2 separate regions of the Homo sapiens genome follow, and region 2 is linked to region 1. Evidence: promoter capture Hi-C in 16 types of primary human blood cells and fetal thymus (Javierre and others, 2016). All regions are on one chromosome and are shown on one strand. The core of a region is centred on a gene start or on the middle of the fragment in contact, and the rest is flanking DNA. Distances in the headings are between cores, read along the strand shown. Region 1 holds the start of IL21R (interleukin 21 receptor). Region 2 has its middle 46 kb from the start of LINC02129.

Evidence for each region. The method cuts DNA at HindIII sites, captures the fragments that hold promoters and counts their contacts. A CHiCAGO score of 5 or more calls a contact.
Region 2: a contact is called between a fragment that was not itself captured here and the fragment with the promoter of IL21R in region 1, in 6 of 17 cell types (neutrophils, activated CD4 T cells, naive CD8 T cells and 3 more). The highest score is 10.3, in neutrophils.

The regions. Positions count from the first base shown.
Region 1 is chr16:27,396,611-27,403,423 of GRCh38, forward strand. It overlaps IL21R (interleukin 21 receptor), which reads left to right and starts at 5,564. Exons shown (of 9, transcript NM_181078.3): 1 at 5,564-6,008. RefSeq lists enhancers at 5,641-6,183, 6,076-6,195. The HindIII fragment of the contact is 2,346 bases long and covers 4,768-6,813 here.
Region 2 is chr16:27,126,802-27,133,614 of GRCh38, forward strand. It overlaps the pseudogene EEF1A1P38. Among named protein-coding and RNA genes, the nearest start is that of LINC02129, 46 kb to the right of the region's middle. The HindIII fragment of the contact is 952 bases long and covers 3,188-4,139 here.

The DNA.
Region 1 (6,813 bases), core at 4,314-6,813:
AGTAATTTATAGATTTAATGCAATTCCTATAAAAGTCCCAATGGCCTTTTTTAAAAAATGGAAAAACTGATCCTAAAAATCATGTGAAATTTCAAGGGACCCAGAAAAGCCAAAACAATAAAGTTGGAGGACTCAAATTCCCATTTTTAAAATTTACTGCAGAGCCAAGATTGTGCCATTGCATTCCAGCCTGGGCAACAAGAGCGAAACTCTGTCTCAAAACAACACAAAAACAAAAACAAAACAAAACAAAACTTACTGCAGAGCTACAGTAATCAAAACAGTGTGATAATCCTGGCACAAGGCTAGACATATAGATCAATGGAATTGAACTTAGAGTTCAGAAATAAACCCATGAATCTATAGTCAATTTTTTTTCATTTTTTTTGCATTAAAGCACACTATCAACAAAGTGAAAAGACAGCCACAGAATGGGAAAAATATTTGTAATTCATATATCTGATAAAGGTGAGTTTCCAGAATATACAAAGAACTCTTAAAATTCAACAACAAATGATGAACAATCAAATTTAAAAATTGGCAAGGAGCTGGGCACGGTGGCTTATGCCTGTAATCCCAGCACTTTGGGAGACTGAGGTGGGCGGATCACCTGAGGTTAAGGGTTCGAGACCAGCCTGGTCAACATGGTGAAAACCCGTCTCTACTAAAAACACAAAAATTAGCTGGATATGGTGGCACACGTTTGTAAGCCCAGCTACTCGGGAGGCCGAGGCACAAGAATCGCTTGAACCCAGGAGGTAGAGGTTTCAGTGAGCCAAGATCACACCACTGCACTCCAGTGTGGGAGACAGATCAAGACTCTGTCTAAAAAAAAAATAAAATAAATAAAATTTGGCAAGGGACTTCAATAGACATTACTCCAAACAAGATATGCAAATGACTACCAAGCACATGAAAAGATGCTTACCATCATTAGCCATTAGGGAAATGCAAATCAAAACCACAATGAGATACCACTTCACATCCGCTAGGATGGCTATAATAAAAACCAACAGAAAATACATATTGTCTGCTGGGTGCGGTGGCTCACGCCTGTAATCCCAGCACTTTGGGAGGCCGAGGCGGGCGCATCACGAGGTCAGGAGATCGAGACCATCCTGGCTAACACGGTGAAACCCCGTCTCTACAAAAGAAAATACAAAAAATTAGCCAGGCGTGGTGGCAGGCACCTGTAGTCCCAGCTACTCGGGAAGCTGAGGCAGGAGAATGGCGTGAACCCGGGAGGCGGAGCTTGCAGTGAGCCGAGATCGCGCCACTGCACTCCAGCCTGGGCGACAGACCGAGACTCCATCTCAAAAAAAAAAAAAAAAAGAAAAAAAAAAAAAAGAAAATACATATTGTCAAGGACGTAGAGAAATGGGAACCTTCAGACATTGCTGGTGGGAATATAATACAGGGCAGCTGCTGTGAAAAACAGTTTGTCAGTTTCTTAATAAGTTAAACTTATTTAAAAGTTAATAAGTTAAACTACCTTTAACTCAACAAGTCTCCTTCTGGGTATATATCCAAAAGATTTGAAAATGCATGTCTACACAAAGACTCGCATGCAAGTGTTCATAGCATGCTTGTTTGTAGTAAAGGAAAAAGTGGACATACTCCAAATGTCCATCATCTCATGAAAGGATAAATGAATGTGGCATATCTATGCAATGTAATATTCTTCAGCAATAAAAATCAATTTTTATTTTTTATTTTTTTGAGATGGAGTTTCGCTCTGTCTCCCAGGCTGGAGGGCAGTGGCACTAGCTCTGCTCACTGCAACCTCCACTTCCCGTGTTCAAGCAATTCTCCTGCCTCAGCCTCCTGAGTAGCTAGGGCTACAGGTGCACGTCACCATACCTAACTAATTTTTGTATTTTTAGTAGAACAGGGTTTCACCATGTTGGCCAGGCTGGTCTCAATCTCCCGGCGTGTGCAACCACACCAGGCTAATTATTGTATTTTTTAGTAGAGGCGGGGTTTTACCATGTTGTCCAAGCTGGTCTCGAACTCCTGATCTCAAGTGATCCGCCCACCTTGGCCTCCCAAAGTGTTGAGATTACAGGCATGAGCCACCGCGCCTGGCCTAAAAATGGATTTTTAGATATGTGGTGCCAACACACGCTACAACGTGGTTGAACCCCAAACACGCGATGCTGAAAGAAACTAAACACAAAAGACAACATATTGATATGAGATGCCTAGGAAAAAAAAAAAGCAAAATCAGTAGAGGCATAAAGTAGACGAGTGGCCCTGGGAATGGGAATGGAGATTGACTATAAGCAGGCACAAGGAACCTTTCAGGAGTGATGGGATTGTTTTAAAATTGGATCGTGGTTATAATTGCACAATTCGATAAATTCACTAAAAATCATTGAACTGTACATTTACAGTGGCTTGATTTTATGTTATGTAAAACATAGCTAAATAAAGCTCTTAAAATAAAAATAAAAAAGAGGAAATGGGTTGAGGGAGGGGGTGTGTCAATTATTTTTTCCCAGGAGGCCCCTTGGCTGAAATGCAAATGTGACCACTTCCTCCCCGCTGACCAGCTATCAGCACTGAGGCATGGTTGGAGGGCCGCTGAGATCCTATGGCACCTTCCTTCCAAGGGTATAGAGGCCATACTTATGAGACATTTACAGACCCAGAGGAACCCCTCAAGGGACCACATGTCTATTTCTGAGGGGACTCATGTTTACCCCAGTGGACATGGGCCTGGCAGCTCCAAATGCATCTACTTTTTAAGCACCAAGGGACTGTGACCCCTGCTGATCCCACCCATTCCCCAACTCCTGGCCTGAACTGAAAATGTAAACTGGATTAAGCCACTCTTAAGATGAAACCCTCCAATGATGACTTCCCATTTCCTTTGGAACAATCTACCTTCCTCACCCAAAACCGTGAGGTCCCATGTGGTGTAGATGTGTGATTTCCGTGCCTTCACCTTCTACTATTCCTCCATTTGCTCACTGTATTACGCCATGCTGTTCTCAAGTTCCTGGAGCCAGCCACATTCTTTCCTACCTCAGTGCCTTTGCACTTGCAGATCCTTCTGCCGATAATGTTCTTCCCATGGCTGGGCACTTCTTAGCACCTAGTGTACCCCCAAATGTCACAACCTTGATCTCTCATTGGTTTTCTATGACATTTAGTACAGTTTACATTGAGTTTGTCTGTTACTTCTTTTTGTCTAACTCTCCCTACTAGAATATAGGCTCCATGGGGGCTGTCACTGTGTGTATATTTCTGTGGGCTAGCCCCAGGATGTAGCCAAGCTGCGTGATTTTGGACAAGTCACTTAACCTCTCTGAGCCTGCTCAATAAATATTAGGGGGAGGAAGCAAGGAATGGCTGGGTGGGTGGGTGCAGAGAAGAATGAATGGGTGGATAGGTAGGTGGGTGGGTAGAAAGCAGGTAGATAAAGAAGGCAGGCAGGAGGGAGGGAGGAGAAATTGAATATCCTTGTTTTCATACACACCCCAGAGCAGTGTAGTGAGTTAAGAGTGCGGGCTCTGGAGCCCAAATGACTGAGTTCAAATCCCAACTCTGGCACTCATCAGCTGTGTGACCTTGGACAAGTCACTTAACCTCTCTGAGCCTCAGTTTCCTCATCTGTAAAACAGGGACGATGATGATGATGATGATAACTATCTTCTAGACTCATTCTTTTTCATTTTGGGGATTTTATTTTTGAAGACAGAGTCTTGCTCTGTTGCCCAGGCTTGAGTGCAGCACTACAGTCATAGCTCACTGCAGCCTTCAGCTCCTTGGCTCAAGTGGTCCTCCCACCTCAGCCTCCAGAGTAGCTGGGACTACAGGCGTGCACCACCATGACTGTCTAATTTTTAAATTTTTTTATAGAGACAGGGTCTTGCTATGTTGCCCAGACTGGTCTTGAACTCCTAGCCTCAATCGATCCTCCCACCTCAGCCTCCCAAAATGATGGAATTATAGGTGTGCACCGCTGCACACAGCCTTCTCGAGTATTTCTGAGGTTTAAATGAGAGGGTGCATCTTTAAAGTCCTTAAAACCCTGGCACACAATGAGCTTTCAGCAAATATTAGCTCTTTTTACTGTCTCTTCTCCTGATCTTTCAACCACTACAAATTTCAGTGCATGTTATCAGAGAATTCACCCCGAAGATCAAGAGAAAGAAAAACAAAAGCTGGTGTCTTCCCAAGGTTCGTTCTCCAGAGAACACGACACACTTCGGTAGCTGGGAAGAGCTCTACAGGGCCAGGATCCCTCAAATCAACCACAGGGGAATTTGTACCAAGTTCCTCAAAAACAGCTAGAAAAAAAAAGAAAGAAAGAATAGCAAGACGCTTTCTCTTTTTTCTCTGGAGTGGTCACGAAAGTCAACAGCAAGTTGATTCCCAAAAATGAGTCAGCAGGGAGAGCTACAAATTGCATCTTGTTATCAAAACAGCATAAAATAGCCTCCCCCAACTGTGGGACATTTCATCCTGGTATGGCCCCGTTTTCACAGCCTGGTATAAGCTTAGGAATCAAACACACCCAGGTTCAAATCCCAGCTCTAATTCTTCTTGGCTTGTGTGACGTTTCACTCCTCTGGGCCTCAGTCTCTCCATCTGTAAAATGGGACTAATCTTGTCTGCCTCACACTTTGTGGGATAAAGTGAGATCATGTAGGCACCAAAGTAATTCGAGGTGGTGGTGATGGCAGTGGTAGTGGTGGTGGTGGTAGCGGTGGTGGTGGTAGCAATTCTCTTGCTCTCCTTTGGAGACTGCACTAGGCATTAAGCTTGTTACATTTTGTCTCCTGGTTTCTTGAATGTCTTCCAGAAACATCTGACCCTCTCATGGGCCTCTGGCATGTTAGCAAGATGAAAACTCTCTTGAGAATTTCTTTTCTCTATTTTCTTCTTGAATTCTCATGTGTTAATGTCTGCCCTCTTCCTCATAGCTAGGTGCCCCCATTTGACAGATGGGCAAAGTGAGGCATTCAGAGAGGTGATGTGACGTGCCCAAGGGGTCCTGCTCCCTGGAGCTCTGCAGCAGGAGACTGGATCCAAAGGAAATGGAGGCAGAGAGGCATGGGGGTCAAGCCAGAGCAGAGGGTCCCAAGCTCAGACCCTATTAGGCAGGTAAGGCTCAGGAATAAGAAACAGGCTGGTTTGCAAAGTCTGAAAAAGGGGCTTCCGTGGGACCTTGGGCAAGGTTCTGGTCCTTCTCTCTGTGCTGAGGGGCTGGAGTCGGCCACTGAGGACTCTGGGTCCACGGGTGAAACTGTGCCACATCTTCACACCTCTGGCCTCAGTTTCCATATCTGTGCAATGTGGTGGCTCCAGGAGGCACTGCCTGCCTCATGGGTTATGACTGAGAGGCCTGTGGGGATGATGTCACAGGTCCCTAAGAGGGAAGTGTCACCCCGATGGCCCCAAATGTCTTACTTGCAGGTGACCTTTGGTGACAGTGGGTGCCTGCTGTGGGGCCAGGCCCCCTCCCACCTCTTTCTCACTCCCTCCCAGGAGGAGCCCAGCTGCGGGTGGGCGGGGCTGGCGGGGAGCGGCTCACCACATCCTCCTCTTCCTCCCCACTCTGCACATGCGGCTGGGTGGCAGCCAGCGGCCTCAGACAGACCCACTGGCGTCTCTCTGCTGAGTGACCGTAAGCTCGGCGTCTGGCCCTCTGCCTGCCTCTCCCTGAGTGTGGCTGACAGCCACGCAGCTGTGTCTGTCTGTCTGCGGCCCGTGCATCCCTGCTGCGGCCGCCTGGTACCTTCCTTGCCGTCTCTTTCCTCTGTCTGCTGCTCTGTGGGACACCTGCCTGGAGGCCCAGCTGCCCGTCATCAGAGTGACAGGTCTTATGACAGCCTGATTGGTGACTCGGGCTGGGTGTGGATTCTCACCCCAGGCCTCTGCCTGCTTTCTCAGACCCTCATCTGTCACCCCCACGCTGAACCCAGCTGCCACCCCCAGAAGCCCATCAGACTGCCCCCAGCACACGGAATGGATTTCTGAGAAAGAAGCCGAAACAGAAGGTAATTCCAGCCCTGGTTTTCTGCTGGGACCAGGGTGCCTTCTCTGCCCAGGAGGGACTGTTCCCTGCCTGCTGCATCTAGTGTCACAGTGGGAGGGCTCGGAGGACTGTGCCCAAGTCACAATTGGGGACACTGAGGCAAAGAAGATTCATGCAGTGAGGCTGGGCAGAAATGAGGTTGGGGTCTCTTGTTCAGCACAGCTTAGGGGCCCAGCAGCAGGGATGTGGCTGAGACGACCCTCTATCTTGAAAACCAGCCTCCAAAATGTAGCGGGCTGGGGAAGGAAAGCCAGTTTCAAGCCAAACATAACATGTCAATCACCCGATTCTGGGCGGCTGAGTCGGGAGGTGACGGGCATGGGTGTAGAGCCTGATGGGACCCATTCTGTGTCAGTTTCTATGTCTTACCACCTTGATTCCACCCAGTCATTCAAAACAATGGCTGGTGTGCCCATTTCGCAGATGAGGCAATGAGGCTGCGAGAGGTAGAGTGATTTTCCCTCGGTGACTCAACTGGGACGTAGCAGGTCGGGCAGTCAAGCCAGGTGACCCCATGAGCTGTCGCTGCATCTTTCTCATGAAGCACGGGGAACGGGTCGGATGGTAAGAGGCCAACCCAGTTCCCTGTGCATGTGGAGGAGAGGAGGGTGGGGAGGTCAGTGGAGGCTGAGCCTTGAAGGATGGGAAAGGAAGAACATTCCTGGTGGAGGAGCCCTGGGGAGCGGGAACTTAGGACTTGCCGCAGGAATGACGTCTCTGCTCAGTGAAGGCAGAAGACCAGGTGCGGGACATTCAAAGCCAGGAGG
Region 2 (6,813 bases), core at 2,414-4,913, 270 kb before region 1:
TGAACTCAATTTAACCATCGATCTTGCAGTTTCCCAGATCCACTCTATGTCGGACTGGAAGCTAGCACTGGGAAGGCGGGTGTGATTGGCTTCTCTCTTCCTTCAATCTGTCTGGCCCCATTGGGAAACTAGCACCTCTCCCTTCCGGGGCTGGTACATGGGAAGGAAAGAGGGCAAAGCAGTAGGAGTTGCAATTACATGAACTCATGCTGTGCACGCTGGCTTTGTCGCCTCTAGACCTGGCAGATGTTGAATACTGATCCTCTCATGGAGGACTTGTTAGCACTTTAGAGTTTCCTGCTGGAGTCTTTCCATCTGAAATCTGGGTGCATCTCTATTACAGGTGTTCTTTCCTTGTCCCTATGCATTCACCTCCACATTCCAGAAGGCCCTATTGGATGGGTCCCACGACGATCCCACATCAGCTCCCCCTCCCCTAGCTAGTCCATAGGAAACAGCCATACATCCCTTGCCTTGACAACCTCTGCAAGTGCAAACTGAACCCAACAGTTTTCCTGGTACCACTGGCTGCTTTGCCTTTTGCAAGGGGGGAAGTGACTCAAGCACTGGTATTCCATGTCTCCCAACTGCATGCAGGAAACACATTTCAAGCTCATCTAGGAGAAGAGTCTCTAAGAGTTGATAGTGCTCACCAAATAGCTATGTGCTCCTCTGTTTCTCAGTCTCTGTTGCATTTGGATGGAGGCCATGAAACAAGTTCTGGCCAGTAAAGTGAATGGAATGGCCATATGTCTCTTCTGGATAGAGGCACTTGAGAGCCAGATGTTTCCATCCTCTCTCTTCTCCCTTAAAGGCAGTAAGTTCCAGACAGCACTATCATAACAGGAAGAGGACAACCTGAACTGCACCAGACTTCAACTTGAGCTTGAAATAAATTGTTTTTGGATTAAGCAACTGAGATTTCTGGGTTTATTTGTTACTACAACAAAGCCTGTCCTATCCCAACTAATATATCCCATATTCTAGTCTTAAGGTTGTACTCTGCACACCCATCCCTAGCTTTGAGATAAAGAGAGCAGGTACCATATATTCCCTAAAGTAGGGAGAGGATAAGGTTTGCAGCAGTGCTTTCTGTACAGATATCATCTTTACAAATTATTTGTCTCTTCTTCATTCCCAATTATTTTCTATTTCTGAAACAGGTAAAAGGGGATTGAGAATTGTGGTATATGTGCCCAACTATTTCATTCGAAAATCTACATAGCTGGGTGCAGTGGCTCATGTCTGTAATCCCAGCACTTTGAGAGGCCAAGGCTGGCAGATCACTAGAGGTCAGGAGTTCGAGACCAGCCTGGCCAACATGGTGAAGCCTCATCTCCACTAAAAATACAAAAATTAGCCAGGTGTGGGGACAGGCACCTGTAATCCCAGCTACTAGGGAGACTGAGGCACTAGAATCACTTGAACCTGGGAGACGGAGGTTGCACTTGAACTCCGGGAGACAGAGGAGCTGAGATCACGCCACTGCACTGCAGCCTGGGTGACAGAGCAAGACTCTGTCTCAAAAAAAAAAAAAGAAAAGAAAAGAAAAAAATCTGTATACAGTGAATTGGCACCTCAGTTCAAAATTTCCCTTCTATCTTATCTTCGTGCCTAAGTGAAACTTCAATTTTAACATACTATTACACAAGACCGTTGTGCAAATAACAAGACTGAATAGTATTAATTACCATTCCATGCATTAAGTTGTGCTGGGCAAATAGCATTCATTATTATATTTAATTATCATAGCAACTCTGAGAGACAAGTTACTTTTGTTATGATCCTCATTTTACAGATGAAGAAACTGAGGGTCAGAGAGGTAAGTGACTTGCCCAAAGGTACACACTAGGAACCAGAAAAACAGGGACTTCAACCCAAGTCACGCTGGTGCCAACATCCCTACTGGCAAGCCATATGAACCTCCCTGCCTTGAGCTTCTTCAGTAACAAGGTCAGGAAACTAAAGTTCCCTGACATCAGCTGTCTGCCTGTTGGTCAGCAGTGGTAGTGACAACACCAGTATTTGTACCCAGGTCCCTGTCACCAAAGCTGGTGACTATACGACCTCCATGTTTGTCAGGCATCCAGTAGGTAGTAGGTACATGATAACATCAGCTCCTCCTTCCATCTGCTGGGAACAACCCAGTTAATCAACCTAATGGCTTTCCTTTCAAGAGTACCAATCTCTTTGGCATATCCAGCAGATATACCCAAGGTTTCTTAAGATTTACACTTCTCTGCACCCCATTCCCATGACCATCCCTTAAGAAGTCCCCTCTGTTTCACCCCCAACTTCCCTTTGAAAGATCTATTCCCGTCCCTCCTCCCAGAAACTGTCCAACACCGCTGTCCTCCTTGGTCAATTGTTCTAGACGTATTATTTATGGCAAACTCATTTGTCCCTAACACAAATGTAAGATGTAATTCCCCAAGAATTCAAATGTAATTTAAAGTTATTTTCCAATATCTAATTTGCCTTTTATTTATTTAGGGCAATATTTCAGCAGGAACTTCCCAGCCAAAGTGCCAGCATTTGTTTACAGTGTCAGGCCCAGCAATGGTGGGTAACCACACACCCCAGACACAGACATTACCGATTAAAAAAGTAATTACAACATTGAACACAGCCTTAAATAAAAGCAAAAATGCAGGAGACAAGAGGGGAAGCAAAAACATAAATGGAAACAATGCCGTTTTCCCCAGACGTTTTGTAATATTTGCAGCCTGCCTGGTACTGGCACCCTGCCCTGGCTGTGCCAGACACAAGCAAAGCATCCAGTGAGGAGGGGTGGGGTGGCTCTGCTCTGAAAAGAGGTGGAAAGAAGTGCCTAATCATCAGAGAACATCTGTCTGCCTGTTTGCCTGTCTGTCTGTCTGTCTTTTGTTTAACATCTTGCTCTGCTGAGCACCCACTTATACTGATCCTCAGGGGATTAATTGCATACTGTGTTATGGCAAATGACCAAAACCCCACACAATCAAACTGACTTAACTAGGAAATGGGTATGTTCTGGTTCATGACAGACCATCTGTAGTTCTAGTTTCAGGCACAGTTGGATCCAGGGGCTCAACATCATGTAGAATCTCTCAGTCTCTATCACTTGGCTCTTCTTTCCACAAAGTTGACTTCATTTTCAATCAGGCATTCTCTACCTGGTGGCTAACATAGAATCCTAGCAGCTTTAAGCTTACATCCCATCAGCTTAGTGTTCCCCCAAAGAAAGGAAGTGCTTCTTTTCCCACCATTCTAGCAAAAATATCAAGTCAGCCTTTCATTGGCCCAACTTGGGTCATGTGCTGATCCGTGAACCAATAATTGTAGCCAGGGAGTTTCAGTCCTTTCATTGGCCAGGCCTGGTTCAGATTCCCACCCCTTGAGAACAAAGGTAGGACCAGTCCCACCCAAACTGAGACTGAGAGCGAGGAAGAGATAATTCACGAAAAGAAAATTGAGGTTCCCATGAGAGCTGAAGGAGCAATAAGACACTGGGTGAGTAAACACGACTAATTTCCACCACAGATTTGAACACTTTCTGTCTGTTTCTAACACCTCTACTCTTCCTACAGTATCTCCAGACCACATTTTTAGACTTGTGAGCACAGTACAGTGACCTCTGCTCCATTCTTGGGAGGATAATAGGACTGTCCTATAGAATGTCAAACTTGCAGATTCTTCCCTCGATTTTATTAAAAGATTCTGTAAACTATAACATAGCACAACTGGGAACAGATGACATTTTGTAGCCACCAAGGGTAGCCTGCTTCAAGTGGCCCAGGACTTCCTTCAAGATGAATATAACAAGAGTTTTTGGGTTTGAATGAGTCAAATAATTGCTGTCTAATTGTCTAACAATTAAGTCACAGGAGAGGCAGGAAGTATAGTTGCTGTAAGCATTTTTGAGTAGTCACACTTTGGACCTGACCCCAAATCAGTGTTCCTGGTTCCTGCTTATACCCCAAGGAGTGACTGTGTATGCGAACTGATAGAATTGATTGTAGAGATGTAACTCTGGGGCCAAATGTGTGTAGCTCTTGGCCACACTTAGCACTGAAGGAGTCGGATCATTCTCTCTCAATGGATATCCAGAAACTGGGTCTCACATAATCACAGAACAAAGCATTCACAAGACTGTGCAAAGCTTTCTTCAACAGCAACCCCTCTGGCAACATGAGGCAACTGCAGCAGTGAACTAATCAGACCCCTGTCCTTAGCCACTTGTAGGTTAACCATGGGCAGACATTCCCCTTGGAACTAAGAACACCTGTATGGTTCACAGATCATTTAAGAGGGCACAGAGAACTCCACAAGAAAAGTGATGAACATTCTACTAATAAGGCAGGTGGTTGCGGAAGCAATTCGTAGGGAAAATGAAAGCACTCTGCCTCATTCAGGCCCCAAGTTTGTGGAGATGTTCTTGCTGCCAACACAAGGAATAAATGAGAGTCTGGATCTAGGTTCCTAAGAACCATTCCTGGTATATAGGAATATAGTAATATTTGGCCTTTTATAATTCCAGTCAACAGCACTTTTTCCCCTTTTAAATTTTTTTTTAATTTTTTGAGACAAGGTCTTGCCCTGTCACCCAGGCTGGAGTACAGTGGTATGATCTCAGCTCACTGCAACCTCCACCTCCTTGGTTCAAGCGGCTTTTCTGCCTCAGTCTCCTGAGTAGCTAGGACTACAGGTACACACCACCTCACTTGGCTATTTTTTTTTTGTATTACTGGAGATGGGGTTTCACTGTGTAGGCTAGGCTAGTCTCGAACTCCTGACCTCAAGTGATCCATCTGCCTTGGCCTCCCAAAGTGCTGGTATTACAGGCATAAGCCACCACATCCAGCCATTTTTTCAGTTTTTATTGTTGTTGTCACTTGCCAGAGACCATGATTGTCTCTTACTCAAACACCACTGTATTTAATGTAATCCCATCTGAAATTCTGTGAGGTAGATAGCATTATCATTCATCCCCACATTATCGATTTTTTTTAATGGAGGTTCAGAAAGGGAAGATGATATGCCCAAAGTCACACCATGGTAGAACCAGGACTAGAACTCAGATTTCCCGCTCCCCAACTAGTGCTTCCATTAACTAAGGGCTTTGTGTTCTCAAACACAATGGGCAAAGGGAGACAGAAAACTTGTGTTTCTTGAACATCTGTGATGGCAGGCACCACGCTGGGCATGTTTACATATATCAGCTCATTTACTCTTCTCCACAGTCCCATGAGGCCTCTGTGGTATCATTTCCCCCATTTTAGTCAAACGGAGGCACAAAGAGAGAGGCGGTACCTTTCCCTGAATCACTGTACAGCAGGAGTCTCTGATGGGATTCAGCATAAAGAGGACATTTTTCCAGGAAGGAAGCTCCCTGCCCAATGGGACTGGTGGAGTCTCATCCTCACTCCTACTCTCCAGAAACATCACTGAACCACTCCACTCTTCCCAGGAAACAAATTCTGGGCACACTCCAGGGTCCCTGAAAAAGACTCCCTCACCTCCAACTTTACCAGCTGGCTCCATCCAAGAGTGAAACTGGCCCAATTTTCCCATAGAATTAGGGGTGTAAACATATACAACTTTGGTATAAAAGGAAAAATTGAAGTTATTTGTTAAATATACTCAGTTCCTAATTGGTATCCATCTCTGTACTAAACATCAAAAAAATAAAGTCCAGACTCTCAAGCATGTAAATGAACAATTTTACAATTGTTCATTTGATTATAAGTCTGTGATATGGTTTGGCTGTGTCCCAACCCAAATCGCATATTGAGTTGTAGCTTCCATAATCCCATGTGTAGTGGGAGGGACCCAGTGGGAGGAAATTGAATGATGAGGGCTGGTTTTCCCATGCTGTTCTCATGGTAGTGAATAAGTCTCACAAGATCTGATGGTTTTATAAAGGGCAGCTAGTTCTCCTGCACACACCCTCATGCCTGCTGCCATGTAAGATGTGCCTTTGCTCCTCCTTCCCCTTCCACCACGATTGTGAGGCTTCCCCAGCCATGTGGAAATGTGAGTTCATTAAACCACTTTTTCTTTATAAATTACCCAGTCTCAGGTATTTCTTCATAGCAGTATGAAAATGAACTAATTCAGGCTGCTGCAAGGAACAGGAAAGGGCCAGAGACAAGGCAAAGCTGGAGCATGCTAGAAGACAGATCTTGTCTTGAAGAGTCTAAAACTATCATTAAAGTCTCCCTGAAAGTTTGCAGATTACACTTAGGGATTTATAAGTGCTCAGCAATAACTTATTAAAATTTTAGTGTGTTCACAAATACTAGCACATTCTGGATCATCTCCCTGACAACCAGAATGGAATCCATGCAATGATTTGATTTGTGATCATTTTGGGGTCTAGTAATAATGTGTGTTTTTTCTCATTAAATTTTGTTTTAATGGGTCTCAAAATTCTGTGACAGATTTTTGGTCAAGTTGCTTCCATTGAAAAGTACTGATTTTAAAAACTAATAATTTAAAACTGCCACACGAAAAAACAAAACAAAACAAAAAATCAAAGTGGTCCACAAAACATTCTCCTTTCCTTCTGAAGGTTTTATGATGCATTGTTATCATTAACCAGTCTTTTACCATTAAACTTAAATGGGCAATTGAAACAAACAGTTCTGAGACTGTTCTTCCACCAATTAAGACCAGGGTAGCAGGTATTAGGGATAATATTCATTTAGCCTTCTGAGCTTTCTGGGCAGACTTGGTGACCTTGCCAGCTTCAGCAGCCTTCTTGTCCACTGATTTGATGACACCCACAGCAACTGTCTGTCTCATATCACGAATAGCAAAGCGACCCAGAGG